Regions from separate parts of the Homo sapiens genome. Here all the other regions are linked to region 5. The links are contacts of gene promoters, found by promoter capture Hi-C in blood cells and fetal thymus (Javierre and others, 2016). All regions are on one chromosome and are shown on one strand. The core of a region is centred on a gene start or on the middle of the fragment in contact, and the rest is flanking DNA. Distances in the headings are between cores, read along the strand shown. Region 1 overlaps CCR5AS (CCR5 antisense RNA). Region 2 overlaps FYCO1 (FYVE and coiled-coil domain autophagy adaptor 1). Region 3 overlaps XCR1 (X-C motif chemokine receptor 1). Region 4 overlaps FYCO1 (FYVE and coiled-coil domain autophagy adaptor 1). Region 5 holds the start of CCR1 (C-C motif chemokine receptor 1). Region 6 holds the start of FYCO1 (FYVE and coiled-coil domain autophagy adaptor 1).

Evidence for each region. Contacts are between HindIII fragments. The CHiCAGO score rates a contact against its expected background, and 5 or more counts as called.
Region 1: a contact is called between a fragment that was not itself captured here and the fragment with the promoter of CCR1 in region 5, in 5 of 17 cell types (M1 macrophages, M0 macrophages, megakaryocytes and 2 more). The highest score is 11.2, in M1 macrophages.
Region 2: a contact is called between a fragment that was not itself captured here and the fragment with the promoter of CCR1 in region 5, in 1 of 17 cell types (neutrophils). The highest score is 8.4, in neutrophils.
Region 3: a fragment that was not itself captured here is called in contact with the fragment with the promoter of CCR1 in region 5 in 1 of 17 cell types (monocytes); the score reaches 6.0 in monocytes.
Region 4: a fragment that was not itself captured here is called in contact with the fragment with the promoter of CCR1 in region 5 in 2 of 17 cell types (neutrophils and naive B cells); the score reaches 6.7 in neutrophils.
Region 6: the fragment with the promoter of FYCO1 here is called in contact with the fragment with the promoter of CCR1 in region 5 in 3 of 17 cell types (neutrophils, monocytes and total CD8 T cells); the score reaches 16.8 in neutrophils.

The regions. Positions count from the first base shown.
Region 1 is chr3:46,379,620-46,384,515 of GRCh38, forward strand. The region is part of intron 2 of CCR5AS (CCR5 antisense RNA); the gene reads right to left. Among named protein-coding and RNA genes, the nearest start is that of CCR5, 11 kb to the left of the region's middle. RefSeq lists an enhancer at 608-1,109. The HindIII fragment of the contact is 1,305 bases long and covers 2,468-3,772 here.
Region 2 is chr3:45,976,601-45,981,082 of GRCh38, forward strand. FYCO1 (FYVE and coiled-coil domain autophagy adaptor 1) reads right to left here. Exons shown (of 18, transcript NM_024513.4): 4 at 3,105-3,230. Among named protein-coding and RNA genes, the nearest start is that of FYCO1, 17 kb to the right of the region's middle. The HindIII fragment of the contact is 5,743 bases long and covers 1-4,482 here.
Region 3 is chr3:46,014,167-46,018,820 of GRCh38, forward strand. XCR1 (X-C motif chemokine receptor 1) reads right to left here. Exons shown (of 2, transcript NM_001024644.2): 2 at 2,841-4,654. Among named protein-coding and RNA genes, the nearest start is that of XCR1, 11 kb to the right of the region's middle. The HindIII fragment of the contact is 1,438 bases long and covers 1,430-2,867 here.
Region 4 is chr3:45,960,258-45,964,683 of GRCh38, forward strand. FYCO1 (FYVE and coiled-coil domain autophagy adaptor 1) reads right to left here. Exons shown (of 18, transcript NM_024513.4): 10 at 4,079-4,197; 11 at 1,968-2,135. Among named protein-coding and RNA genes, the nearest start is that of CXCR6, 19 kb to the left of the region's middle. RefSeq lists an enhancer at 1,701-1,890. The HindIII fragment of the contact is 2,061 bases long and covers 1,751-3,811 here.
Region 5 is chr3:46,206,300-46,210,724 of GRCh38, forward strand. It overlaps CCR1 (C-C motif chemokine receptor 1), which reads right to left and starts at 2,014. Exons shown (of 2, transcript NM_001295.3): 1 at 1,983-2,014. It also overlaps a transcript of CCR3 not described here. The HindIII fragment of the contact is 1,401 bases long and covers 1,741-3,141 here.
Region 6 is chr3:45,993,777-45,998,796 of GRCh38, forward strand. It overlaps FYCO1 (FYVE and coiled-coil domain autophagy adaptor 1), which reads right to left and starts at 2,048. Exons shown (of 18, transcript NM_024513.4): 1 at 1,946-2,048. LOC105377063 (a long non-coding RNA gene) reads left to right here and starts at 2,127. Exons shown (of 3, transcript XR_940799.3): 1 at 2,127-2,313. RefSeq lists enhancers at 1,847-2,346, 1,847-1,896, 1,917-2,076. The HindIII fragment of the contact is 2,332 bases long and covers 1,454-3,785 here.

The DNA of each region.
Region 1 (4,896 bases), core at 1,870-4,369, 170 kb after region 5:
CGTGGTGGCTCACACCTGTAATCCCAGCACTTTGGGAGACCGAGGAGGGCAGATCACTTAAGGTCAGGAGTTCAAGACCGGCCTGGCCAATATAGTGAAACCCCTGCCTCTACTAAAAATACAAAAAATTAGCCAGACGTGGTGGCGGGTGCTTGTAATCCCAGCTACTCGGGAGGCTGAGGCAGGAGAATCGCTTGAACCTGGGAGGTGGAAGTTGCAGTGAGCTGACATCTAGCCACTGCACTCCAGCCTGGGTGACAGAGTGAGACTCTGTCTCAAAATAAATAAATAAATAAATAAATAAATAAATAAATAAATAGTAAATGCACTGCTTTGCTTTTGGAGCAGAAAGCAGGCACTTTGAAAAGGCAGGGGAGGAAGTGAGCAAGGGCAGGGGGTCTGCACACTGGCATGGTGCCTGATCTATCCAGGCAGTTGAATTGGCACTTTCATAGGCAGAAATAAGTTGAAAAAGTGGCCTAAAACTCTCTAGGTGGGAGTGGATAGTGGGCATGCCTTCAACCTGCCTTTCTGGAGGGTGAGTTCCATGGCAACCCCCTGAAGGGTGAGAGTTCCATGGAGATCATGCTTTGGTCTGTAAATCAGCTGTTAACTCTCTAGAAAGTTCTGTCTTGGAGCATATAGTTAGATGAACTTGCCCTGTAAAGAATGTCTGGTGAAGGGGAAGTAAAAGGTGAGATTTGCATTTCTAAAGGGCTAAGTAGAAAGTGGGGTACAAGAGGAAAGGAGAAAAGAGAAAATAATTTAAAAAATAATTGTAACTTATTCCCTTTTACTTAGAAAAAAGGGAATACTCAGTTACATTATCACCTCGTTTACATCAAACCCTCTTATGGAATCCTATGGTTTGAAAACAAAAAGGTTGTTGAGGACCAGTGAGCCCAACCCCTTTGCTTTATAAATGAAGAGCATTGCCTGCCCTAAGCCCCAGAGACTCTGATGTCGTGGGTCTGGAGTGGGCTCCAACAGCGGCATGTTTTGATGGTGCTTCCCAGTGGCACGCCAGCGATGAGCCTTTGAGTAGGGAAAGTAGGAGCACTCGTGACTCCCTTCACGATCAGCACCTGTGTGCTAATAAATTCACAAAAGCCAACATATTGGAGTCACTCAGGGAGTTTTACAAATAGTGAGGTTAAATCCAACCTCAAATAGTTCTGATTCGATCTGCCTGCATTGCTGCCCTGTGGTTCCCCACTGTAGAAGCTCCCCAGGTGATTCTAAGTGTAGCCAAGTCTGAGAAATACTGCCTAAAGCCTGTTGGACTGACAGCAAGGGCTGTTGTCTGAGCAAGACTTTGCCTGGCCTGGGGTGGCATGTGCACCAGGAAGAGTCTCAACTTTCATAACAGAACATTCCCCAAGCTGGTTTTTTTAAAGCATGTGAATCTAGACTTCATTGGCAATACCAAAGATCTGTATTTGAGGCTCCAAGTATTTCACTTTCATTTTTGGTTTTGGGTTATGTTTTCACCCTTCCTTTCCAAGTGAAAAGTAAACAGAAGTGGGATGTCTGGCGCCCATGCTGAGCTTGGCAACTTCAAATTCAATAGAGAAGAAGTCTCTTGTATAGAAAAGGGCCTGTCTGAGATGTTTCTCAAATAAATATAGATTTTGCTTATGTGGCTAAAGGATTCTTCTCCCCCCATTTCCTTATCCCTGCAGTGAGCCATCCTTCTTAACTCTTTCCATGAAAGCATTATTCCTGAAGAACTGGGAACTCATGCCAGCCCTGATCAGGCAATGATAATTCTGCAGAGAATTAGAATTTAGATTTAAATTGTCAACTCTTATACATCCTGGCATATGGTTTAAACACATGTACACACACACAAACACCTCCTACTATTTACTGAAGAGCAGATATCTGATAACTTAATCTTTTTGGTTTTGAGTCAAGACAATTCCTCCTTTTGAAACTGCATACCGCTGAATATAATAAAATGTAATTAAGATTAAAAATAAGAAACTAATGGGAGAATTTCAATATTGTCTATGTTCACTTTAAAATTCCTCTACTTAGGTTTACTGCCATTACCAAAGACTATTCAAAAATCCTTTTTAGGAGAATCCTAATGGTTTCCTGACATATAATCAAATAAGGACTCTGTTGATTGGCTAACTCAATCTTCCTGTGCCAAAAAGCAGAGCCCAGCAGAGAAGAGGGCAGGGACTTGAAAGTCAGACTGACTCGAGTTCCAGCCTTGGGGCTGTGGGAGCTTGGGCAAGTGACTTAACGTCTCTGGCTCTCAGGATCTAAAAGGATTTCCAGTAGTAATTTGGGGTGTTACTGATACAGGAGCTAAAAAGAAATTATTTAGGTGGTTAGTGAGGGTCAGAGAGTCCTCGGTAAGATTTGCCTTTTAACAAAAAGCAGCCCCAAAATCATTTGTTTGCTAACAAAGAGAAGCCTGTAAAATTGAGCTGCAGACATAGATAAGCAAGCTGGAAGCTTGCACGGGTGAATGCCGGCAGCTGTGCCAATAGGAAAAGGCTATCTGGGGGCCAGGCATGTTCAACATGGATTCTCCATCTTCCCTTTTCTTTGTCAACCAAGTGTACAGTAAAGGAACAGGCAACATGGCACGGGCCAGGTAGAGAACCCTTCTGCATAATAAAAGATTAGGGTGAGATGGCCAGCTTCTTCCCGTGCTATGTAAATGGCATACCTGGTCCAACCAGTCTTTTGGGCCCTGTGTAAATCAGACACCGCCTCCTCAAGTTAGTCTATAAAACCCCATGCATTTTACCGTGAAACTGGGAGATCCACTCGGAACCCCCTCCTGCACGAGAGACCTTTTCTCTTTTGCCTATTACACTTCCGCTCTTAAACTCACTGCTCATGTGTTAGCATCCTTGATTTCCTTGGCATGAGGCAACGAACCTTGTGTATTACCCCATACAAATGATGCTGCTTCATTACTAATAGCAACCTGACAGGGTTGTGTTGGGGTATAAATTATCTAGACCAGGGAGATCCAATATAATTTTTTTGTAATGACGGGAATGCTTTGTATCTGCATCATCCAAAATGGTAGCCACCAGGCCAGGGTGAAATGTGGCCAGTGTGACTGAGGAACTGAATGTTTTCCATGATTTAATTTAAATGTGGCCAATGGCTACTGTAGGAGACAGTGTGAGTCTGGCATATTATAAATAATAAATATTAATATAATTTGAACTTTGGCATCAGTGTTTCCTAGATTTGAATTACTATGCAAGTTGCTTACTGTTTCCAAGCCTCAGCTTTCTAATCTGTAATTGGGGCTAATAATAGTATCTGCCTTACAGGTTTGTTCAGAGGATAAATGAGAAATTGCATGTTGAGGGCTTAACACAGTGCCTGGCACATAAAAGCTCTGGTAACAGTTAGCCACTTTAATAATTTGCTAATAATGGCTATTTCTTCTTCAGATTAGGATGTGCTCCCCCAAACAGTGCACTTAGACATAGCGGGCAATCCAGCTCACTCTCTGCAGTGAGAGAGAAGCACTGGCCGACCAGAGTCAGCCAGGGGCTCATGGGTATGAAATCAACAGCATGATTTTGTAAGTAATGGATGGAAAGGGCCTCACAACTTTATGGCACTGTGTTCAATTTGCTTGGTCTTCTGTAGCTCCTTTTGAAAGCCTTTTAGGGTGGATTAACCTGCTACCAATAATTCTGGTCAGATGTAGACTCCATAGCTCAAAGCAAACTGAGAGAGTGAGGGCAGCAGGCCAATTCCCCACCCCTTCCTTCTGGACTCTGACAGAAGCTTACACTCAAGGAAGAGCAAGTAGGAATTAACGTGTTAAGAGCTAGGTAAGCAAAACCCAATGAGAAGTTCTGGCAAAGCCCCATGGGCAGGGGTGGCTTAGGCACAGGAAACAAGTAGGATTTCATACCACGCGCCTCAGTCTACTTCCGGGGCCCTCATCCTCAGCTGTGCCTATGCAAAGGAGAGCAACCAATAAACCCCACCGCCACTCTCCTACTGTGGAGGCCAGGGATGGCCAGGGGTAAGAGAGGGATGGGAAGTGTTTCCTCCAGCCGTCCTCTGAGAAGGAGAGGAAACTGGGCAGAGCTTCTGTCCTCCTTCAAGCAGAAACAGAAACAAAAGAAACCCCTAAGGGGGTTCTTACTTCCCCTCTAGTTCAGTTGTGCACTAACCATCTGCAGCTCAACATTCAGCATTCATTCATTGATTCAGCAAACATTGAAGGAGGGCCAGCTATGTGCCAGATGCCAACTCATGCCATGAAAGAGAGTCCCTGTCCTTATGAAATTCACTATTTAGAGAGAAAAGCAAGCAAAAAGGCAAAGTTTGAAAAGTACTGTTGAAGTGGCATCATTGTCTGGGGTGAATACCTGAGGTTTGTGGTCTCACGCCAAGGGAATCAAGGACTCAGGCACACAAGAAGTGAGTTTAAGAGCAGAGGTTTAATAGGCAAAAGAAAGAGAAAAAAGAATAGCTCTCTTGCCTGCACAGAGAGAGGGGCACCTGAGTGGATCTTCCTGTTTTGTGGTGAAATGCAAGGCATTTTATAGACGAGCTTGAGGAAGTGGTGTCTGATTTACTTAGGACCCGAGAGATTGGTCAGACCAGGTGTGATGTTTACATAGCATACAAAGAAGCTGGCCATCCCATCCTAATCTTTTATTACGCAGACGGGGTCTATACCTGGCTGGTGCCATGTTGTCTGTTCCTTACTGTACACGTGGTTGACAAAGAAAAGGGAAGATGAAGAATCCATGTTGAACATGCCTGGCCCCCAGATAGTCTTTTCCTATTGGCACAGCTGCCGGCATTCACTCTTGCAAGCTTCCAGATTGCTTATCTATGTCTGCAGCCCAATTTTACAGGTTGCTCTTTGCTAGAAAAGAAATGATTTGGGGG
Region 2 (4,482 bases), core at 1,296-3,795, 230 kb before region 5:
GATGGGGGAAGGGGGAGCAGTGGTTTGCCAGAGGGTTCCTATACCTCATACTATTCAAATTTTAATTCCAACACTATATTGAGTCAGGAAATATTGGCATTAAATGCCAGTGATTGAGGCTGTACCACATATTTCCTGATTCAATGGGGTAAACATCCTGGTGTATAGCACCTTTTAGCTCAGAACTATATTTCTTCTTACTGCTGACTCAAGGAAATGATACCATATGAAGTAGTTTTAAAAAACAAAAAGGTGTTAACTCTCTTTAACTACAGAAGCTGTAAGACATTTCCCCATGTATGTTTTGGGTACAGCCAGGACACCTGGAAGTGAAGGCAGGCAGCAGCCTGGTTTATTGGCTTTATAAAAACCACCATGACATGTCTGCAGATAGACGATCTCAGCAGATGCGCGGGGGAGAATCTTGATGGTATATCCTGTCTAAATCAGTTTTCCACTGACGATTGAGGTGAGAACAAAGTGTTTAGTGGTGATAACCAGGAAATTCAGGCCGTTGGAAAGAGGTGAGCAAGGCATTGTAAAGTGAAGCATGTCAATTATACAAACACACACCCTGCAGAATTTCATTAAGACCCTCACATCACAGCCCAGGTCTGTAAGCTCCCAAAGACAGGAACTTGTCCTTATTTTTGGCAAACTTACCATTATACCAGCCTTTAGAACATCAAAACTTTTTTAATGGCAAACATTTGAGGCTATACTTTTAATCAGGCCCATTAACTGAATTAAATATATATATATATATATATATATATATATATATATATATATATATATATATATATAAAGGGAACTATTTATTTTAAAAGGTATTTTTAGGGGGAAGGGAACAATAGTTCCTTTGTACTGCAAATCAAAATGCTGCATGGCCTTTTTATGTTTTGAGATTATGGATCCACTTTCATTAACTAATTCCTTAATTTTTTTTAGCTTCTAATCAGAACCCACATACACTATCCAGAGAAGCAATACAATGGCAGCAAAGGACAGGAAATCTGCAGGGTACAGGAGAGCTGATTCTGCTTTAAACCAGGTCATTGTGCCAAGAGCCCGATGCCGAGCTACACCCTCATCACAGTGAAACACAGTCCAAGCTGAGCCCATACTGAATCTCCAGAAATGGTTTCTTAGAACCTTCACCTATTTTAGCCTAAATAGCTACCGCCTACCTCAAAGGGGTCTGAGGGAACCTACAAATGCTTCTTATCCATTAACTCTTGCCCTCTCAGTTAAAGACCCAGATGGCTACTTGATTATTAAAATTAACCAAGTAACCAGCAACTCACTTAGCCTAGGGATGTTCCAAGCCATTCCAACCAATGATGCCCCAGAGAGCAGTCTTCAACAGAGATGAAACTGGACCCTATGGGAAGCAGAGCCTATGCCAGCCACTAAAACACCAACATTCATGCAAGCAAGGAATGTTTTTTGCTTCTAGAAAGTCAATTTTCATGGCTTCAGACTGTCTAAAGATCTGTTTGCATTATGAGAAAAGAAGAAGAAACTAGCCAAAAAGTAGATGTGTTTTAGCAAGCATTTCATAATCCTGGGGAATGCGGACTAAAACTAAATTTATTTCCAGACTTCAACTGTCCAAAGTCATAAAGTTAAAGGCTTTAGTTGCTCTGATGCAGCGGCTGAGGAATGAAGAGAGGAGAGTGACAAAGAGAACCTCTTCCACATTTATGATGCACTAAAATTAAAATACTGCTCTACTTCATGGACCCAAGTATCCCACCAGACCTCACAAGACTCATCCACACTAACATGGACATTAAAGAAACTCGCAGAACCAGCCCTTTAGAGCCAGGATCCTTCCTCATCGTCTCAGATGTCAGAGAGTGCAAATGGTGGGAAATGTCCAGCCATTGATGTCAGCATATCTAACACCATCATTCTCTATAAGAAGAAAGTCATTTAGCTCCAGCTGGCGTGTTTGGTGAGGAGCCCTTCCCAGAATACCTTAGGCTGTGGTATTTGTGGGCAGCCAGCCAAGCAGCAGGTGTGTTGACTTTAAACTGACTTCACACTTACTGAAAAGAAAGAAGAAATGTACAAACCTCCTGTCTCAAATCAAGGGGTTTACCTGCTCCCTGATATGCAAAGTTCTGCACTCCTGGATGGAATAGGCTGAGGAGAGAGAAGAAAGATTCTCTGGGGGTTGAGGGTGGAAAATAAACAGAAAGGAGAGTGTGAGTGTGTATGTGAAGTATGTGTGTGTGTTTGTTGTTCTGGAGTTTTTTTTTTTTTTTTGAGACGGAGTCTCGCTCTGTCGCCCAGGCTGGAGTGCAGTGGCGCGATCTCGGCTCACTGCAAGCTCCGCCTCCCGGGTTCACGCCATTCTCCTGCCTCAGCCTCCCGCGTAGCTGGGACTACAGGCGCCCGCCACCACGCCTGGCTAATTTTTTTGTGTGTTTTTTAGTAGAGACGGGGTTTCACTGTGTTAGCCAGGATGGTCTCGATCTCCTGACCTCGTGATCTGCCCGCCTCGGCCTCCCAAAGTGCTGGGATTACAGGCGTGAGCCACCGCGCCCGGCCTGTTCTGGAGTTTTGTAAAACAGCAAAGCCATGGCATTTTGCTCTTGAGGGGCGCAGAATTTAAAGTAGAAAGTTGGCACATCACTGTTTTAAGAAATGTCTCTTGAGATCCCACATCATTCTTATTTCAAATCTAAGTTTCCTGGGCAAAGTGTAGGGAAAGCAGCATAGCAAACTCTAAAGAATTTTATCTCAGAAAATGAGTTTTTTAAAAAGATGGAGTCATCCTATGCTTTACATCTCAAGGGCTGCCATTAGCAGACTACAATGTATGTGAATAGGCCACCCTGTTAAGTAACATGCGGGTTGTGGCCTAAGGTACATTCAGGACTCAGCATTCTTCCCCTTGATAAACACTCACTGAAGTGGTTTCCCCAACCTTGAGCCACTGCAACAATGGGCATTGCGTATACCTGGACTAGATTTCTTTACCACCCATAAACTCCCACTTCCTTATTTAGCTGTCTGCAGCAAAGGTCTCTGCAAGAGCTGCTTTAAGCAGGCAAAAGGACGACATGAAGTTGTTGGCTGCTTGCTCAGCTTACCTCTGAGATAGACTTGACAAAGCGGATCCCATCATTGGCTCCTTTCACCTTGGCCAGGCAGGCACAGAAGTAATCCCAGTAGTCCTTCTTGTTGCCCAGGAGGGTGGCCTTCTCTTTCTGATCAAACTGGGTAGGGAAAGGGAAAGGGAGAGGAGGTCCAAACCCACTGCTCTTCATTCCGGCATTTAAATGATAAATAATAACAATAGCTTCTTAGGTGCCAGCACTGGGTGAGGCCCTTTATTGGCATTATTTTTATTTATTGGCAAATCAAGGTGTGTTAATACCCTGTTCATACAGCTGGGTGGAAAACCACCGAAGGTGTTATTAACGGATGAGAAAGAAATACAAGAAAAGAGTCTTGGCCATGTGCGGTGGCTCACGCTGGTAATCCAGCACTTTGGGAGGCTGAGGTGGGTGGATCACCTGAGGTCAGGGGTCCAAGACCAGCCTGGCCAACATGGTGAAACCCCATCTCTACTAAAAATACAAAAATTAGCTGGGTGTGGTGGCGGGCGCCTGTGATCCCAGCTACTCAAGAGGCTGAGGCAGGAGAATCACTTGAACCCAGGAGGCAGAGGTAGCAGTGAGCCAAGGTTGCACCACTGCACTCCAGCCTGGGCAACAAGAGTGAAACTCTGTCTCAAAGAAAAAAAAAAAAAGAAAAAGAAAAGAGTCTTAAGGGCAATATGAAGAGTGTTAACTATGCTTCGACTTAGGGAAATAAGATAATGACCTTTTATCCCAGTTACTCAACACTTCAGTTTCAATATCGTTTTAATACACCTACAATAAATTTAAATAAATGTCAGCTCTGAGTCATTTCAAACCCAAAACCAAAATGGGCTTAATTGAAAAAAAGAAAGGCTCAAAAACATTTTTACAATGTTAAAGAACCAGCTGAAATGTCATGAGAGAGGCAAGCCCTTCAGCACGTTAGGGGCCTTTCCTCTAGTGGGCCCGCATACTACGTGCTTTGGTGGGATGTGACGTTGCAAAATAATGGTGTTCACAATGACACAGGTATATCTTTCTATAACATTTTATAGCATTTTTTTTCTGATTACAGAAGCAAGATATGCGTATGTTATTAGGATATCTAGATAAAACAAAACACAAAAATAGAAAAAAATTTAACACCTAATACCACTACCCTAAAATAACTTCTACAGCATTTCTTTCCTGCCTATTTTAGTTGCATGCATTTTTCCACATCTGCAGTGTTTTTTACATCAGCACTTTTTGGGCTAAGCAGGGATAAGAGTTATACCATCAATATGTTAAAAGAAAATATCCTGGGCTGACCCCAGAGATTCTGATTCAGTAGGTTGGGGTGGGAGCCAAGAATATACTACAAATAAGCTCCCAGAGGATGCTG
Region 3 (4,654 bases), core at 899-3,398, 190 kb before region 5:
AATTGTGAGAATGTGGCATAATGTGTGCAAGGGATATAGCACAGTTTCTAGCACCCAGTAGTTGCTCAATAAATATTCATTGAGTGAATGATTGAATAAATAAAGACACTAGATCAGTGATTGTCAAACATGGCTGTACATTAGAACCACCAGGAGACTTTAAAAACATCCTGAGGCCAGGTTGCACCCTAGAACAATTGCATCAGAACCTTTGGGGTAGAAACTCAGACATTAGTGTTTTTTTTGTTTGCTTGTTTTTGTTTTTTGAGACAGAGTCTTGCTCTGTTGCCAGGCTGTAGTGCAGTGGCGCAATCTCAGCTCATTGCAACCTCCGCCTCAGCCTCCCGAGTAGCTGGGACTACAGGCGTGCACCACCACGCCCAATTAATTTTTGTATTTTTAGTAGAGACGGGGTTTCACCATGTTGACCAGGATGGTCTCGATCTCTTGACTTCATGATCTACCTGCCTCGGCCTCCCAAAGTGCTGGGATTACAGGCATGAGCCACTGCGCCCGGCCAACATTAGTATTTTTTAAGCTCCGCGTGTGATCTGACATGTAGCCTTGGATGTTGGAGTGTGACCTATTCTGGTCCCTTGTATCCTCCTTAGTCAAACTGGAGAAAACAGAAACCTCGTAAGGTAGCTGTGAGACGTGAAAATGTATGGACCTAATACATAGTAGGTCTCAGTAAACACTAGCTTCCAATCTCCTCTGCATGTCTTCAGTTAGGTGTAGCCTTCTGTGTAGGTGCAGGAGACACTGGAACATCATGGAAGGTTTGGAGGTGCACTGGGATTCCGCTCCCACACACTGAAATTTGTGTCCTGTATTAATTTGCTCCGGCTGCCATTAACCAAGTTCCATGACTGGGTGGCTCGAACGAGAGAAATATACTGTCTCACAGTTCTGGAGACTGGAAGTCTGAGATCTAGGTGTCAGGTTCATTCCTTCTGGGGCTGTAAGGGAGAATCTGCTCCATGCCTTTCTCCTTGCTTCTGGTCGCTTGCTGGCAGTCTTTGGTGTTTTTTGGCTTGTGGCAGCATAACTCTAGTCTTCACATGACATTCTCCTGTGTCTGTGCCCAAATTTACCCTTTTTGCAAGGACACCAGCCATATTGAATTATAAACTCACCTTACCTCAGCATAATCTCATTTTATATGATCTGCAATAATCCTATTTCCAAATAAGGTCATATTCAGGGAGACTGTGGGTTATTCAGGGAGACTGTGGGTTAGGAGTTGAACATATGAATCTGGGGGCAGAGGATGACACAATTCAACCTGTAACCTGCCCTAAGCTACAGATTTGTATCCCCTGAAGAACTTCATCAAAATGTAAGCCATGAAATTTTAGACCTATAGACTTTGTTTTTAAGCATAAGAATAGATCTGAGTGCAAACCTCTCTAGTTAAGATGAAGAAATAAGCTTCAAAGGAGGGGAAGTGACTTGCTAAAGACCCAGCCAGAAAAGTGGGCCTGATTTGTATTTTTTTCTCTAATTTTGAAGTAAACAGAAGATTCTTTGATAAATTAGCAGGGCCCAGTGGTTCTTCCTCCCCCACCCCCGCCCCCCAATTTAACCTTACTATTGGGAAACTGTATATTGGCATATCGTTGAACCAATTGCAACCAAAGTTGAGGGTGGGAGCAGGTAAAGGTGGGTACCTCCTACCCCACATTCCCACAGTTCATTGCAAAGTGCCTTGGAAGAGCTTTAATAATACATTTAAAGTGAGCATCCCCAGTTGTGTGGACAATAAGCCAGGTCATTTTCTTTCAGTCAAGAGAGGTCAGCAAGGTGGTCTGGGAAAAGGAACAGGAATTTCTTGGGCCTGGAGTAATCCTATGGGAACTTTTCTTCAAATGGGTATGACTAGAGGGTGGCCAACTTGAGAGTGGGGCCAATTCATCTTTGTGGTCTCACTCTCCACAACATGGGCTTTGCTCTGCTCTTGCATTGGGAAAATACTCCAAAAAAGTAGCCAGGGGTTGCCTGGAGGTTTGCATGCCATTGTCTCACACCCTTCTCTCCCTTCTCACTCCTGCAACCATCCAACTGTCCAGTTCTTCTTTCTAACCATGAATGATGCTCAACGCTGATTTTCTGACATGGTCAAAGTCAAGGAACCAGGCTTCCTTTGTTTTTCTTTGGTCCCTCTGGTCTCACTTCCTTTTGTGGAGGGGCCAGTGGACATGTCGGGGGACGGTTGCAGCAACCCCACATCTATGATCTGGGCTGGCCTTAAGGTAGAGAGCAAAGCTCTGTGCTCAGAATAAGTTGGTGAAGAGTTAGGATAATCCCTCTTACCCTTCCCAATCTTCCCTGAAACCCCCAAGTATCTCCCACCAAGTTTTCAGCATGCCTGAAATTTCCAGCCAATAATAGTATCATACCTTCTGATTGTAGGACTGTATTTCTGAACGGTCCCTGTTCAGACCCAAATATTTTATAATACAGAAAATAAAAGCCTTGGACTTGGAGACAGAAGACTTGGGTGTCAAGCCAGGGGAGAAATGGGGATAGGAAATTGAGTCACAGAGCATTCAAGATAGACTTGGTCTCCTGGACAATTTCACCTAAGGTCTAAATTGAGCCAGTTTCCCACCACCCTGACTCACACAGGCCTTTTTCCACACTTTGTTCTCCAATCCTGAATCCCTAACCCAGATCTTCCATAAGTAGAAGACTTTTAAGAACCTATATGCTCTTGGTAGAAATGAGGGGACATAATCAATGCTATGGGCTGAGTGTTTGCCACTCAGTTTATGGTATTTGTCATAGCAGCCCGAACTGACTAAGACAGCCAGCCAAAGGTAAGACAATACATGCTAATCTTTTACTTGTGCATATTAACACAGTGAAGCTTTCTTGTTTAATGAAATGATGCATAATAATTCATACTTATCTGGGACAGAATGATCAACAAAGCAAGTAGTTTTACATACATGACCTTATGCACAGCCTCATAGTGTGGATGAGTCTGTTATTGGCTTCTCTACAGTTTATAGGTGAGGAAACTGAGCCTTGAGAGGCCCAAGGTCACAGTGGGAAAGAGCTTGGATTTGGAGTTTAGGTCCAGGGCTCAAATGTCATTCGACTCCACAGACAGTTTACTTTGGACATCTTTAGACCAGGTTTCCATGTTTGCAGACCTTTTTGTCCCATCACAGGCATTTGCATAAATGAAACCTGTGAAAAGTTCAACAAAGCTTAATTCCAAACAAAAAAGATGATGTTTAGGCCGGTGGGCCCCAGACAAGTTCACAAGAAGCTCATGGGGTGAGTACCTGGTGTTGACCAGAAGATGAGATGTAGGCAAGTATAGTAAGAGAAAACAGAGGTAGAAAAAAGGCCAAAAGATGGTCTCCTGTTAACTCACTCAACCAACCACAAACATTGCCAGGCACTGAGGGAGATGGTAGGAACTGGGTTTGTGCCTTTGAGGGATTTCCACTCCAGTTGAGGCCATTGGAGTTCTGGGGCTGGCCTGAGCTTGGAGACATGCTCCGCTCAGAGATCAGCGAGGTTCTTCTCTTCTGGATTCTGTCTGAGGGAAACTGGAGGTGTAAATGCTGTAGAACCACCGTGGGTTTTTTTATGTTCCAGGAGTGGTTAGAGGTCTGCAGCTCTGTGTCCAGGACATCTCTGTTTGGAGGGAGAGATAGGCCTGCAAGAGTCCAGTTGAGATTGAGCAATGGTTTCTGTGGGTGGAGGGAGGGGAAGCCCAGGAGGTGGTGGCCAGTGGAGGTTGTGGTCAGGGACAGACAGCGTGGCTCATGGTGTGCAACTCTCTGGAAACTCCTTTTCAGCAGTGTCATCTGCCACTCCCTCTCTGACTGGGTTACCCTTCTATCTTCCTATTCATACTTCTCTTTGTGCCTCTTCCCTTGGGTTCTTGAGGAGCTAGATTAGGGGAAGACTCCTGATTAAAGACTGCCTTGGGAGCCAGTCTATTAGGGATGCCAAAACATCACTGGAAGTATAAAGAGTCAGATATGAAACGCTCCCAGGGAGATGGCTGGATGTGCTGAAAGAAATACAAGAGAAGCATCTTGGGATGGGTAGGAATGGGATGGCATGGGGAGAGGGTGAAGTGAGCTTCTCAAGGGGCCTCAACCCCCAAACCTGCCTTCTAAGAAGGGTGGGTTCAAAGCCCAAGGTGCTTTGGTTTTGCTAAGTGGGTATGTGAGTAGGAGTCCTTTGCCTTTTTGCTCCCTGGCTCAGCCTGCCCTCTGAGTAAAAGTTGAACAAAATGTTAAGAATCAGTGTGAAACTGTGTTTGAAAGATTAGGCCAACTAGAAGCCCATAGGCTTAGCTCTGATACCACAAACTACCTCATTATCTCTTCCTTATGCTGTTTCTCCCATCGGTGGTGAGTAGTGGCCCCACCTGTAGGCTGGCAGGTAGGTCCATGGGAGCCCCTTCCCTTCACTGGTATGCCGCCCAGCCCTGTCCAGCAGGTGCTACTGGCCTCATTATTAAAACTAGGCCCTGGCTCTTCCCTAGACCGATAAACTCCTCCAGATCTACTGCCCCATTGGCAAATAGATCATTGAAGTTGCATCTGGAACTGAAGGGGAAATGCCTTACAAGCTCTCTCTAGGTTGGCCAGAGGGCTACATTGGTATCTACTTTATTCAATAACAA
Region 4 (4,426 bases), core at 1,531-4,030, 250 kb before region 5:
CAGCTAGCATCCTCAGGGCTAACGTGGCTCTAGCAGCACCTCAGCCACCGGTAATGTGACACCCGAGCCACTCAGGTCCTGAGAGAGACAGGCTCCATCACTGACCAGGAACTCCCAATCAACCCCAGATCTTTTGCCTTAAATAAAAAAGCTTGAACATGGGCTTGGCTGGCTTTTTCAAGGACACTTGAAATTGTCAGGAAGCAGGAAGACTCATTCTCTGAAGCAGCCTCATTCTCTAGGCTGGTCCACCCAAACTTTGGGAATGTGGAATGCTGCCAGGAGCTGGTGTTTTCCATCACACCCCTCAGGTCACAAATACCCTGAGTTCTAACTCTGTATATTGATGATAAGAAGGCAGAGTTTTTAAACTTTCAAATTGGTTATAATTTTAATATCACTGTTTTCTAACACTTAATGAATTAGCATATCTAGGCTTTGCTGATCCATGGTGCTGCTAACATCACAAAAACAGGGCTAATCAGATTGTATGTGCCTCTTGAAGGAAAGACCCCAAACTACAAACCAATTCTATGAAGGCTTCTTACCAAAATTTTGAACCTGAGTCTAAGCAAGCTGCCAGTAGAATGATGGTTCTCAGCTCTGGCTCACTGGTGTCTGAGTCTCACTCCCAGAAATTCCAATTCGGTTAGTCTTGGTGGGGCCTGGACATGGGCATTTTTAAATTACTTTCCTAGTGATTCTAATATGTAGCCAGGATTGAGAACCACTGCAATAGTTCTAACTATGGACTCACAGGAAATGCAAGGGATGGATGATCATGTTAAATGACACCATGGGGATGCAATCGGCAAAAGTAGAGAGATGATAGGGAAACCCATTGACTAAAAGGGATGTAAGAGACACAGCAATTGCAATAGATGAATCTAATTTAGATCCTGATTAGAACGACCTGAAAATATTCTAAGGCAATCGGAAAAATTTGAAACTGACTAGACACTTGATGATATTAAGAAATTATACTTCATTTTTTAAGGTGTAATAAGGACACTGTGGTTGTTTAAAATGGAGGGTTCTGGCACCAGGCATGGTGGCTCATGCCTGTACTCCCAGGACTTGGGAGGCTGAGGCAGGCAAATCATTTGGGGCCAGGAATTCAGAACCAGCCTGGCCAACATGGTGAAGCCTATTTCTACTAAAAATATAAAAATTAGCTGGGAGTGGTGGTGTGTGCCTGTAATCCCAGCTACTTGGGTGGCTGAGGCACAAGAATCGCTTGAATGCAGGAGGAAGAGGTTGCAGTGAGCCAAGATCACGCCACTGTACTCAAGCCTGGGCAACAGAGTGAGACTCTGTCTCAAAAAAAAAAAAAATTCAAAAAATAGAAAATAAAAGAGTCCTTACCTTGGAGAGGTACATATTGAAATATTTATGGATGAAATGATATGTCTGGGATTTGCTTCAAAATAATCTGGGAAGGTGGGTAAGCAGGTGGGTCTACAGATGAATCAAGACTGGCCCTGAGCTGAACACTGTTGAAGCTGGGTGACAGGTACCTGGAGGTGTATTACATGATTCCATTTTTGTATATTTGAAAATTTCCATAAGGAAAAGTTAAAATAAGTTTTGAATGACTTGTCAGCATTAAAAAATCAGGACACTTCACATTAAGATCCAGGTTTCCACCTTCTCTCAAGAAGTAAGGTGGTCTGGCAGTTCTAGGCCAAGACATATGGCAGAAGCAGAGCCCAGCTGTGTCCTCAGTTTCTCACAGTCCCCTCCTGATACAAGCTTCCACTTGTATCAGCTGCCTGGTACCTGCAGGCGCTGGAGTTTGGGACTCTAGTACTGGGGAAAGTGAGATGGAGAAGGAGAGAGGGGCTCCTGAGACAGCAGCAAGAAAGTGGGGAAATTTCTGAAGTATGCTTTCAAGAACAGCTGCATTTCTTTAGAGAAAAACCCCAGTGTGGGGAAAACCCCAGCTGCTGGTTTGACACAGCACTCACCTGAGCAGCTCTATCAGCCGCTCCTCGAGATACTTCTTGGTTCTGTTGAGGTCATCCAGGTCAGCAAGCATCTTCTGGTCATTCCTCTCACGATTTGTCACCTCCTGGCAGAGTTTGTTGTAATACTCTTGGATTTTTGTTGTGGCTTTTTCGAGTTCCTTCTGGGTCCTGGGGGAGGAGTGGTAAGTTTTCTTGATTAGCCAGGACTTCCAGCTTTCCCAGGGCTCTAAGCTCACCCAGGACTCTAATGAGGGGTGCTACTGCCCTCCGCCATGGGGGAGCCCCTTGGTATCTGCTCACAGCTTATGCAGTCCCCTAGCTTTTGAGACTCTCCTCTCACCCCCACATACAAAGGGGCATTCTGGGAGGGAAAGCAGGCTGACCCCAGGTTGCCAGAAGCACCCTAAGTGAATAGAACTCTGCACCCCTTGGCTCCTGGACAGGGGCTGGGCTTGCAAGAGAAGCCTGATAGGCAAGGCTCATGGGCTGGTGATGGGGAGGATGGGCAGGAGGAGAAAGGAGTCAGGACAGGCAGGACAGAGGTGTAGCTTCCTGGAGGTGGCCACACAGAGGAGGGCCTGTCTTCCACACGTCCTTGGGACTCTACACATGGGGCATGGCCCTGGGCCCACAGCAGGCACTCAGTCTTAATCTGCACTGCCAGCTGTTCTACCTGATAGCCCCCCTGAGGCCCAGGGAATTCCGTTTTGGGTGCTGCAGGGTGTCTCAGTCTATAGCAGAGGGAGCTGGCTGAATCTCGCTGTCTTCCTCACCCCACCCACTCCATTTTTAATGCAGCTATTTCCTAAGGCAGTGGTTTTCCAAGGATGGTCCAGTGGGACATAATAAAAGCTCCATTAAACAAAGGGTTCTGCAGAGAGACTGATTACTTTACACCTTCCACATCTAGTATAAAGTTGCCAGGAAGTTGTTTAGTAGACCCTGTCCACCAAAATGGCCTTATAGGTGCACCCACACACACAGGCAGCATATGTGTGTGCTTGCACACACACACACCACACACACACACTGAATAAAATAAGTTGGCAAATAGACTGTACAGCTTTGAGCAACTGAAACAAATGCTCTGAGATCTTACAAAAAACCACTGTTTATCATGTTTTCATGCCACCAACTCAGACTCTGTTTAAATTGTCATATGAACATGACTTAACTAAGGGCAGCCAGTGCCCTGTAGGATCTGAACACTAGAAGGGTAAGATGAAAAATGTATGTCCAGGTTACCAAATGTCAAAGATATCCTGGATCTCCTACTGAGCCAGAGCCCAGGCCTAGAAGGCAGGTGTTGGGAAGAGGTAATAGATAAATAGAAAAGTTAGAGACTTGGGACAATTTGGTGTGCTTATCTTTGCTGGTGGCACACATGCAATTCGATTCCAGCAACTCCTCCTCCCTGCTACACCTTTTTAAAATCAGGTCTTCCTCCCTGTTACATCTTTTCTTAATCAGGTCCTGGCTCAACTAGCTGTGTCCCATGACCACATGGTGGACTTAGGCTCACAACTCCACATGGCCCCAAGCCTGAAAATGAGGGGGTCAAGGAGGCCTTGGGTGGCAGCGTGATCTGCTATCCACAGATATGGCATCAGAGTCTGCACAAAGACAGGCTGATCCTGGTCCTTGGCACACTCATCTTCCTCATCCATAAAATGGGGATAGATGATAACACCTTCCTCATAGGACTGTTAGGAGGATTAAATGGGTAAATGTATGCAAAGTATTCAAAACAGAGTCGGCCACGTTTTCAGCATTATTTAAATACATGCTGCTACTATTACCATTATTATTATGATCTAACTTTTATTTCATTTTAGTTTTTCCAAAGCTTGCAGTTACTGAAGTATGATATGCACTGCCAGAGAGAAGAAAATTGAGTTAGGAGAAAGGTGCTTTAGCCGTGTATAGGTTGTGATGGGCAGGCAACCAGGTTCTCTGTGGCATGCTTCCAGCAGAAGCACTTTCTGAGTTTGTGGCTTTTCTTGCAAAAGGACTTCCTAAACCTAATATGAGTGACTGACTTTCTAAATGACGAGACCAAACACTCCTTCCCTGAAGACTACCGACAGCTACGTAGGTGGACTGTGACTAACCTTTCTAGGTCTTCACGCAGGGCAGCCCCCTCCTTGTCCTTCCTCAGCATGGCCGCCTGGCACTCTGCAAGATGGTTGCTAGTGCAGCTCAGCTTCTCTCCCATGTCTGCTTGGGTGGCCTGGCACAGGACGTCAGGGAGAAGACACTCAGCTTGCAGAAGGCCATGCAACGTACCATAAAGTGGCTGGTGTGCCATCCACCCCATCTGGCTGGGTCACTTCTAAATGGAGGGTTGTTTCCTATTAAGTTCAAGAGGCCATGAACCTCTGCTCTATATTTGTGGGGCCTCAACTGCAACTAGTTGTGGTGGTTGGCAAGTGGCAGGTACCAGAATTCCCAGGGTAACA
Region 5 (4,425 bases), core at 764-3,263:
GAGGAGCTTTAATTTTTTATCAAACCCATCCCCTGGCCCACTCCTCCATCTCCAGAGAGATCCAATCAGCCCTCTTTCTGGAGAGAGTCAGGCTAACGGTCACTAACAAAGCTGTGTTGGCAGTTTCTAATTTCTGCAGCCACAGCCATTGCTGATGAGGGCAGACAGTTCGGTTTGATAGTCAGCACTTTTCGGTGGGCTGGCAGGTTAACAGTGGAAGTATGCAAATAGCTTGGAAAGCACAAAGAGCAGCTAGTGCAAGCCTGATCCCATGAGTCCAGTTTCTGGGAAGGTTTGGCAAAGGCAAAGGCAAGTTGAGTCAACATTGTCAGGTGGCATTTTAAACCGAGTCACCTCCATACACCCCCTACCTCCAACCCATTTGTTATTTCCCCAACTTGTTAAGCCCCAGGCAACCACTCCAAGGCATGCTGTTCCTAAAGGGAGGTGATCTGGGGTGGGGCCCGAGAAGAGAAACCAAAGGACCATGTTGTCATCTAATCTGCCAGCCCTGCTGTAGTCTACTGCAGAAGTCTGCCTCAAGGCCACTGCACAGTGGTCAGCTATAGCCCTGGATCCTGGACCCTCCACTGCTAGTGTCCTCCAGCCTGGGAGTTGGTGAAGTCTCTGAGCAGAGATAGAGCAGTCTGTGATGGTGAAAGACACCCAGGCCTATGGTGCGCTGGCTGGCTTATACTGGTTTATAAATGCCAATTGCGTGCATCTCTTCCCCACTCCACATTCAGCATGTTGGTAGCTTGAAACTGACCACAGTGGGGGCATTTATACCATGAAAATCAACAAATGTTATAAAGCAGGGATCTTTTCTTCAGAAGAGTCAGTTGTTGAACATTTACCAGCACATCACTGCCCAGGCCCCACATTCTGAACAGTCCAGCACTGTCCCACTGCTCGGTGCGGGAACTAAAGGATCAGTGAGTGGCACATAGCCTGGTGCCAGGTTGTGCAAACTTTTGGGAGTTTCCATCTCTTCTTTGAAATCTGGGACCCACCAAGACCACCTATGAAGTAGATACCTATACGGAGCCACCATGCCCCTCTATCTTCAGAACAAAATCCTGACCTGTGTCTTTGTTAGTAGAGCAGAACAGATGCCCCCCAAGATCACCTGGCCAGCTCCTTGCCTTTGGGTGAGTGAAAGCCTACCTCTTCCAAAGATAGCAGTGCCAATTTTGAGGATCCTTGGTTCTAGTCTTCTTAAGAGATAGGTTCAGTATCAAATCATCCTTGCATCTGCCAAGATTTTTCTAGCTAATATTTCCCTCTTGCTATAATTTCTTCATACACCATGTTTGGTTTTCCTTTACATGGGGGAATTTGGCAAGCAATTTTTTTTTTTTTTTCAGACAGACTCTTGCTCTGTCGCCAGGCTGGAGTGTAGTGGTGCAATCTCAGCTCACTGCAACCTCCACCTCCCGGATTCGAGTGATTCTCCTGCCTCAGCCTCTTGAGTAGCTGGGACTACAGGCATGCGCCACCATGCCCGGCTAATTTTTATTTTTAGTAGAGACAGGGTTTCACCATATGGCCAGGATTGTCTCCATCTCTTGACCTCATGATCCACCTGCCTCGGTCTCCCAAAGTGCTGGGATTACAGCCGTGAGCCACTGCGCCCCGCCAAGTAATTTCTTATTGAATAGGTTTCCACAGAAAACACCTTTTGTCCCTTAGTACTGACTGACTTTCTTAATCAGTAACCAAAAGCCAATCCTTCAAGTAAGCTTCCTTTTTAGCAAAAAAGCCTATATTTCATCTGAGCACCCAGCTTTATAAATCCACCATTCTCAGTATTGCTACAGTATTAATTGCCTTGGAGATGCATCCATGGGCTACTTAGACATTTGCCCAGCCTACTCAAAGAATTCCCCCTACCTTTGAGGAGCCCCTAGCTGCATGCATGTCTTTGAACAACACTGCCCTCCACAGTAACAGATAAGACAGAAAAGACAAGTGACACTTACTCTGGTTCCAAGGGACTTTGTCCGTGAAGTCTTTGTTTCTGGGGCTTTCTGGGTTTTTATGAATTCAAGTTTCAAGATCCTGACCAAGTAGGAAGTACTCAGCTTCCTGTGTGATGATGGAGAATTGGCTCCAGTTTCACAGTCTTTCAAAATGACAAGAAAGGGACAAAGTTCTTCTTTTTGTGTGGTTTGGTGCTCATGAATGGCCACAACGCCCACCAGTGGCCACTTCCTGGAAGCCAAGTTAACTGCGAGGATTTTCTCTGCTCACTCTGAGCCTCTTGAGTCTTGGCCCTGGGAGCTCAGCCTTAAGGGAATTGGGGGCAGGTGAAGCTGAGTTGGGTGAGGTGGGTGGCAGTGAGATGTTCCCAGAATGTTTGGAGCAATTGAAGTGTGGGATGTGTGTATGTGGGATGGGGGCAGGGCATAGAGCTCTTGTGGTCAGCGGCAGACTTCTTTTTTTTCTTCTTCTTAAAGATTGTGAATGGAAGGATTTAAACTGGAACCCTGAGTCCTGTTCCTCAAAACTAACTGACATGGGTGCTCACAGAGGCAGCAGCTTCTCTTTGGCACCCTATGCCCCTCGGCTTCTGGGAGCTCATTGTCCCTCTGCTCTCTGCTCCCCAAGTCCCTCCCCACCAAACCTCAGAGAGTGGCTTTGCCCCAGGAACCTCCAGCATGAAGGGAATATAGGTCTGTTGGTTACATTTTGACCTTCCCTTTCTGATGCCCCATTCCTGTTTTACGTGATGGTCAAACATGGGCCAAGTTCAAATCCCAGCTCTCCACCTGTGACATGGGCAGATCACTCACCTTTCTAAGTCTTGGTTCCTACTCTGCTAAATGGGAGTATTGAATGCTTACCTCAGAGGAGAAGCACGAAGTCAACTTGTACATGAAAAATGTCAGAGTGCCTGGCACAGTGAAAAATGTCTGACAAATGATGAGTACTGTGACTCTCCTCACAACTGCCAACACCTACTCTGCCTCTGCCCTTGTGTCTTCTATAAAGTGGGGACACCCCTAACCTTCCTCACGGCATTGCTACAAAGCACTGTTTCAGAAATCATCAGTGTGAATGTGCTTTGAAAAGATCACTTGTCTCTTCATGGTTCAGTTTTCTTATCTGTAAAATGAAGAATTCAGACAAGATGGCCTAAGCTTGACATCTGATCATCACTCAGCTTCACCCCAAAGAAATAAATGGGGGTCTGCATGTGCCTGGCTATTTGCAGTACTTTGCTGGTGGATCAGTTTCCAAAGAGAACAGAGGCTTGTGAGGCCTGCCTTTTCCTTGATCCTGTCTAAAGTAAGGGACATGGTCAGTACCTCATCCTTGACCAGGCTTCCAGCTCTGCTCTAGGTTTCATTCCACAGAGGGGATGTACCAGGCAAATCTGCTTGTTCATTGAACAAATATTTATTCAGTACTCACAATGTGCCGGACATTGTGTTAGGTGCTTGGGATATAGTGGTGAAGAAAGAGGCTGGATCCATTCTTTGAGAGCTTATAGCTTAGGAAGGATCACAAACAATTAACCAAGTTACCACAATGAGGAACAGCTTTTGTAGTGGCCTGGGAAATACCCTGGGCTAAGGAAGGGTGCATCGAGGGTGGGAAGGGGTGAGGAAGTCCTTTAGAGCAGTGGTTCTCAAAGTGAGGTCCCTGGACCAGCAGCATTCACATTCCCTGGGACATTGCTAGCCATGCAAGTTCTGGGGTTACATGCCAGATATACTGACTCAGAAATCCTGGGGATGCGGCCAAGCAATCCAGGTTTTGACAAAGACTGGCATGATTCTGATGCATGCTTAAATTTGGGGGGCATGGATCTAGATTTTCTCAATGCTTTTGGCTCAGAGTCCCATGTGATCTTTCTTCAGAAGAGTTAGGCTGGACCAGCTATGAGCTAGGAAGCCTTCTTTCTCTCTTTAGCTCAAGGCCTAAACAAGAGGCTGCTCAGTTGCCTGCTCTGTCTCCCCTCCCACACCCACACTCAGGTCTCCTATGGCCTTGCAAACCCCTTAGTGCACACACCCCTCTCACCACAGCAGATGTGTACAATGGGGGCAGCACAGAGAGACAAGAGAGAAACCAGCAAAGAGGGATGACCTTGCTCCATTCATTTCTCTTAAAAGCCCTTTGACTCCTCTCCTTAAAAGCTGTAGTGTTCTCTCAAGGTTGCCGTATTGTCCTTGATCCACATCAATGTTCCTCTTCCTTGGAGAGAAGGGGGAGATGTGGGCAGCTTCCTTTGCCCCAGAGAGGTTGCAGTGGAAGCCCAGCACTAAGCCAAACCCTGTCCTGAGACAGCCTTCCACCCCAGCCTTGGCACCAATGTTCAGGGAAGAGATGCAGGGGACCCTGCCAGTGGTGGATGTGGATGACTCTGTCTTTAACACCTGCAGAGCTCATGGACCCTGGCCGTCATCAGGTTCAACC
Region 6 (5,020 bases), core at 798-3,297, 210 kb before region 5:
GACCACAGCTAGACAACACACTTCCTCTGCCTCATGTTTAAAGACATTCTAGTCTTGAGTCACCAAAGCTGTGTCTTTGGAATCTTCAGTAAACAAAAGTTACCTATCAGCTAAACATCTCCCCTAAAGGGAAGCAGGGTGGGTGGGGGTGAGGGGGCTGCCATTTCTTGCGTACCTACTTTGTATTCTTGAGTCAGCAGTCCATAGCCTTGGTGACCAATATGGGTCAAAGCTACCAGCTGCTCTGATCTTGCTCTGTTATGGGTGATTCCTCTCATCACAAACATCTATGGGGGCCATCCCCCTCAAAAAGGACCAGGTTAAAAACTTGGCTCCTGAAATTATACTGGTGCTCCAAACCCAGCCCCAAGGGGCAAAGGTCATCGGAACAACAGCTAAAGGATCACTGCCTGAGACTGTTACCAATCTCTAAAGTAACTGCAAAAAAAAAAAAAAATCAAAGTAAAATATTAAGAATTGAGTATACGGATATTCACCATACAATCCTTTCAGTGATTCTGTATGTTTATTTTTCTAATAAAATATTAAAAACAATTTAAAAAGTAAATGAAGTGCTACACAAAGATAGTCACTTTGAACATAAACAGATAAACTCTATTTCCTAAAGCAAGAGCCTTTAGGAGAGATCCTATTAATCAAAGGAGGCTGAGATCCATCACTGTGACAATTAGCTCTTATTTTCAGGGTGATAATAACCACGGTGCACAACTAGTATGGGGCATTCAATGCTTTCAGAACAGTGGTTGTCACAGAAGGGAGGGTCAAGTGGAGCTCACTCAACAGGGGTCCACTTCAGAAGGTGGGAACTACTGAAAGCAGAAAACCTTGGCATGATAGCTCCAGCTCCCCACCCCTCCCCCACACCAGCCCCCAACACCCTCCAGCCGCATTAGGCAGATGGCAGGGGAATTAAGCTTGCAGCCTGAGACCACAAGGCCTGCACGGGCAGGAGAACCAGTGAGCAGATTAAGCCCTGGATCCTCTGCCCCGCAAAAGCCCCTGACCCATTTCTCTGTCGGGAAAGGAAACTGCTGTGGTAAGACAAGCAGAGGGGCTGAGAGGCTCTGGCCAACACAGGCAGTTTCAACAAGTGTTCTATTTTTTTTTCTGGAGAGGACACCCAATGGGAACAGTGAAGAGTGACAGGGACATCAGAGAATACATGTGCTTTAACAGGGGGCCACGCGGTTAACGTGTCAACCACATGTGCTTTTCTTACAAAAAATAAAATCCCGCCATCCTCCCCCCTCCCCGCCCCACCCCCGCCAGGTTTCAACAGCACGGACTCCAGTCCAGTGCAGTGCCGCCACACCAGAGACAACAGGTGTTTCGGGAAAAGACCCCTGGGGGCTAGCTCGAGACCCTGCGCATGGGCACAAGGGGCAGTGGATAGTGAATAGGTCTTGGCCAAAGGATGGGCCAGGAAGAAAGAAGCTTCTTCCCCTCCTGGGAAGAGGGCAGAGATCCGAGCACCAGCGGAGTCTTGCAAAGTGAAGGTCTGGGCTGTCCCGGCCCAACTGGGCCAGAGACTAAACTTCCTAAAGACCACGCAGGCAGGAACTCCGGGGCCTGCCCCATCCTGCGCTAAGACATTCAGGCTTGTTCTGAGACGCCGCATGGTGGGCTCCTTTCCTTTGCGGGCCCTCCGCCCTCCGGGGTCTTGGAACTGGTGTTTGGGGTCTGTCTTTCTAACCGACCAACAGAGGCAGGCTGGGTGCCTGGGCCGGCTTCCACCTGCCCGAGGTGCTTCCCGGCCCGCTGGGCAAGGACGGGGGCGCTCGGGCAGGGTCTGAGGGAGACCTGGGATGGGCGGGGACTGTAAGGGCAACAGGTGACAAGCCGCGCCCCGAGCGAAGCTCTCGCCTCAGGGATCGTGAGCGACCCAGGTGCCCCCAGAGTCCAGCCGGTCTTCCGCGGCACTTACGCGCTCGTGGGTCCACCGCCGGGCAGAACCGAAACTTTCTGGGGCCAAGCGGAAGAGGACGGGAACGCGGTGCTGACGGCCATGACGCGCACACCAAGAGGGTGGCGGGGGCGGACTACAACTCCCGGCGTGCTCCCCGGGGCTGAGGCCTGCAACTCCCATCGGACTCCCGGGGCTCCGACTACAACTCCCGGCGACTCCGCAGGGCGGGGTTTAAGTGCTCCCACCGCCCAGTCCCCGGACCGACTGTCCCACCCGCGACCCATGCTGGCCCCAGGTTAACGCCTGCAACCCCGGAGGGCCACAAATCAAAGGTCTGGCATCTTGACAACAACGCTGTTCTTGTGTGGCTAAGGAGCACTCCAAAGGTAGCTAGTTCGAGTTGAATCGTGCACGTGCTGTAAGTGTGAAATACACCTAGGTACCAAAGAGTCCGAAGAATGTTAACTAGCTCATTAATTTTTAGTGATTGCATGTTAAAATGATAATATTTTGATATATTGGGAAATAGAAAAACATGTATTGGTGGGCCTAATTTCCCATCTTTTAATCCCCCTTATTTCTTAATATCAGGGTCTTACTTAAAATTAGTGCTCAAAAACTACGTGTTTATGAACTACCACCCCTAACTTTGGCCCCATCCTCAGCCCAACTTCTATTTATAAGATGGGTGTTGCAAAGCACTGTGGAACTGAATACGATAGAACAAAATGCATTCAATCAGTGTCCGCTATGGGCACAGTAGAAAAGAGGAACACTACACGGGGACTTTGGCTTCTAACTGACTGCATTCCTTAGCTGTGGCTGGCTATCCTTTACTCTCTGCCCTAGTTCTCATCATTTAAGCCAGAAACAGCTCTCTCCCTTGTAGGACCTAGCTCGTGGTATCCAGTCAGGAACCGTGGTGGCCCAACATTCTAAACTGAGGAAGCAGGGTGTTGTCTGGGTACAATAATACAGAAAGAAAATCAATTTCTTAGTCGATTTTAGGCTATGACATCTCATTAGCCATCTAATTTTATAAATTAGATGTAGCTAAAACAGTGAGTTGGATGGATGGAGTAGTCAGTTTGGGGGTGGGGTTGGGAGGAGGTACATGAATAGAAGTGATTTCCACTCTTGTTAACAGAAAGGAGAACAGAAAGAAAACGGGGGGAGTGAGAAGATGACAAAGAGAAAAGTAATCAATGTAGTGGTCTAAGAGAAATCATTGCTCCAACCACTGTCTGAACAGCTTCATGCAATATTAAGGATGAGAGAGATTTTAATGTTGGTCATCTGGTCCAATATCCTTGTTTGAAACTGTGTGGGGAAAAAAAAACCTCCCTCAAACCGTATTTTTCCTCTACTCTTACACAACAGCAATCATCAACACAGGAGAATAATTTGGTGACCAGATGTGTGTGGGGTTTTCCCCACACACTGAGCAGTGGACCGCACCTGGGTGTCCTCCAATTCAATTCCGACACTATCTACCTGGAGTATCAGATCCCACAAGTGGAGGGCTCAGTCCCCAAGACTGCCTCCTCACCTTTAAACACCAGTTGTAAGTCTAGGCCTCCAGAATTTTGGAATGACTGGCTTCAAGTTGAGTTCCCACGACACCCTCTTTGGGTTCAGCTAATTTGCTAAAGTGGTTCATAGAACTCAGAGAAACACATTTACTGGTCTATTATAAAGGATACTGCAATGGATGCAGATAAAGAGACACGTAGGATGAGGTGTGGAGGAAGGGGCGTGGGGCTTCCATGCCTTCCCTGGATGCACCACTCTTCAGTAACCTCCACGTGTTCAGCTATCCCGAAGCTCCCCGAATCCAGTCCTCTTGGGCTTTTATGGAAGCTTCGTGATGTCAGCATTGCTTCCCCCAGGGTATAGGGGAGGACCCTCTCTTGGGAGGGTCTTAAGACCTATAATCAGAAAGGCGGGGGAAGCGGCTGGGCACGGTGGCTCACGCCTGTAATCCCAGCTCACGCCTTGGGAGGCCGAGGTGGGCGGATCACCTGAGGTCGGGAGTTTGAGACCAGCCTGACCAACATGGAGAAACCCCATCTCTATTAAAAATACAAAATTAGCCGGGCGTGGTGGCACATGCCTATAATCCCAGCTTCTAGGGAGGCTGAGGCAGGAGAATCGCTTGAACCCGGGAGGCGGAGGTTGCGGTGAGCCAAGATCGAGCCATTGCACTCCAGCCTGGGCAACAAGAGCAAAACTCCATCTTAAAGAAAAAAAAAAAGAAAGAAAGGCGGGGGAAGATTAGAGTCCTGCCTTAAAGCAGGTGAAAGGAGGGCAGAAGGCCAGAGAGATTCGGTTTCCTGAAGCCTAACATACCTAACATAACAAAAGACTGTAACAAGGGCTATGGGAGTTATGAGCCAGGAACCATGGAAGAAAACCAAGATAGATAGATAGATAGATAGATAGATAGATAGATAGATAGATAGATAGACAGACAGATAGACAGACATCATAATACCACAGAAACTTAAACCCAAAAGGAGTTTGAAAAGAAAAGGAAAACAAACCTAATATTTATTGAGGACCTATATGCCAGTCCCTAGCCCCCCAGCAAAAAAACAAAAAACAACAACAAAAACCCATTCAGCATTATATTTAAAACTTGCAGCCACTTGGTGACATAATTAGTATTCATTATCATACTTTGAAGATGAGGAGATGAAGCTCAGAGAGGTTAAATGACTGTCCTGGTCCACCCACCTAATAAGTGGTGGAGAGTGGTGGAGGCTGGGGTAGAGCTGGGGGCTCCTGAGGGGTCTTCTGTCACCCAGCACACTGTCAGATACAGGGAAGGTTAACAAAATCACTACTGTTCAGGTAGTTTAACTTGGATTTCCTTTATAGATACAGCAGAGTATTTCAAACTATAATCTTTCAAACAAACATACAAACAAACGCAGCATATTCTTGTGTTCTGATGTGAATACACATTAAGAGATCAGATTCAAAATCACCAAATCCCCACACCCTCTCCTTACAGCCTTAACAAGTGGCAGAAGAGGAGACTATTCCTCACGGGAAGCTGACCGTGCCCACGGCCCTGAGGAGGGATGAGGC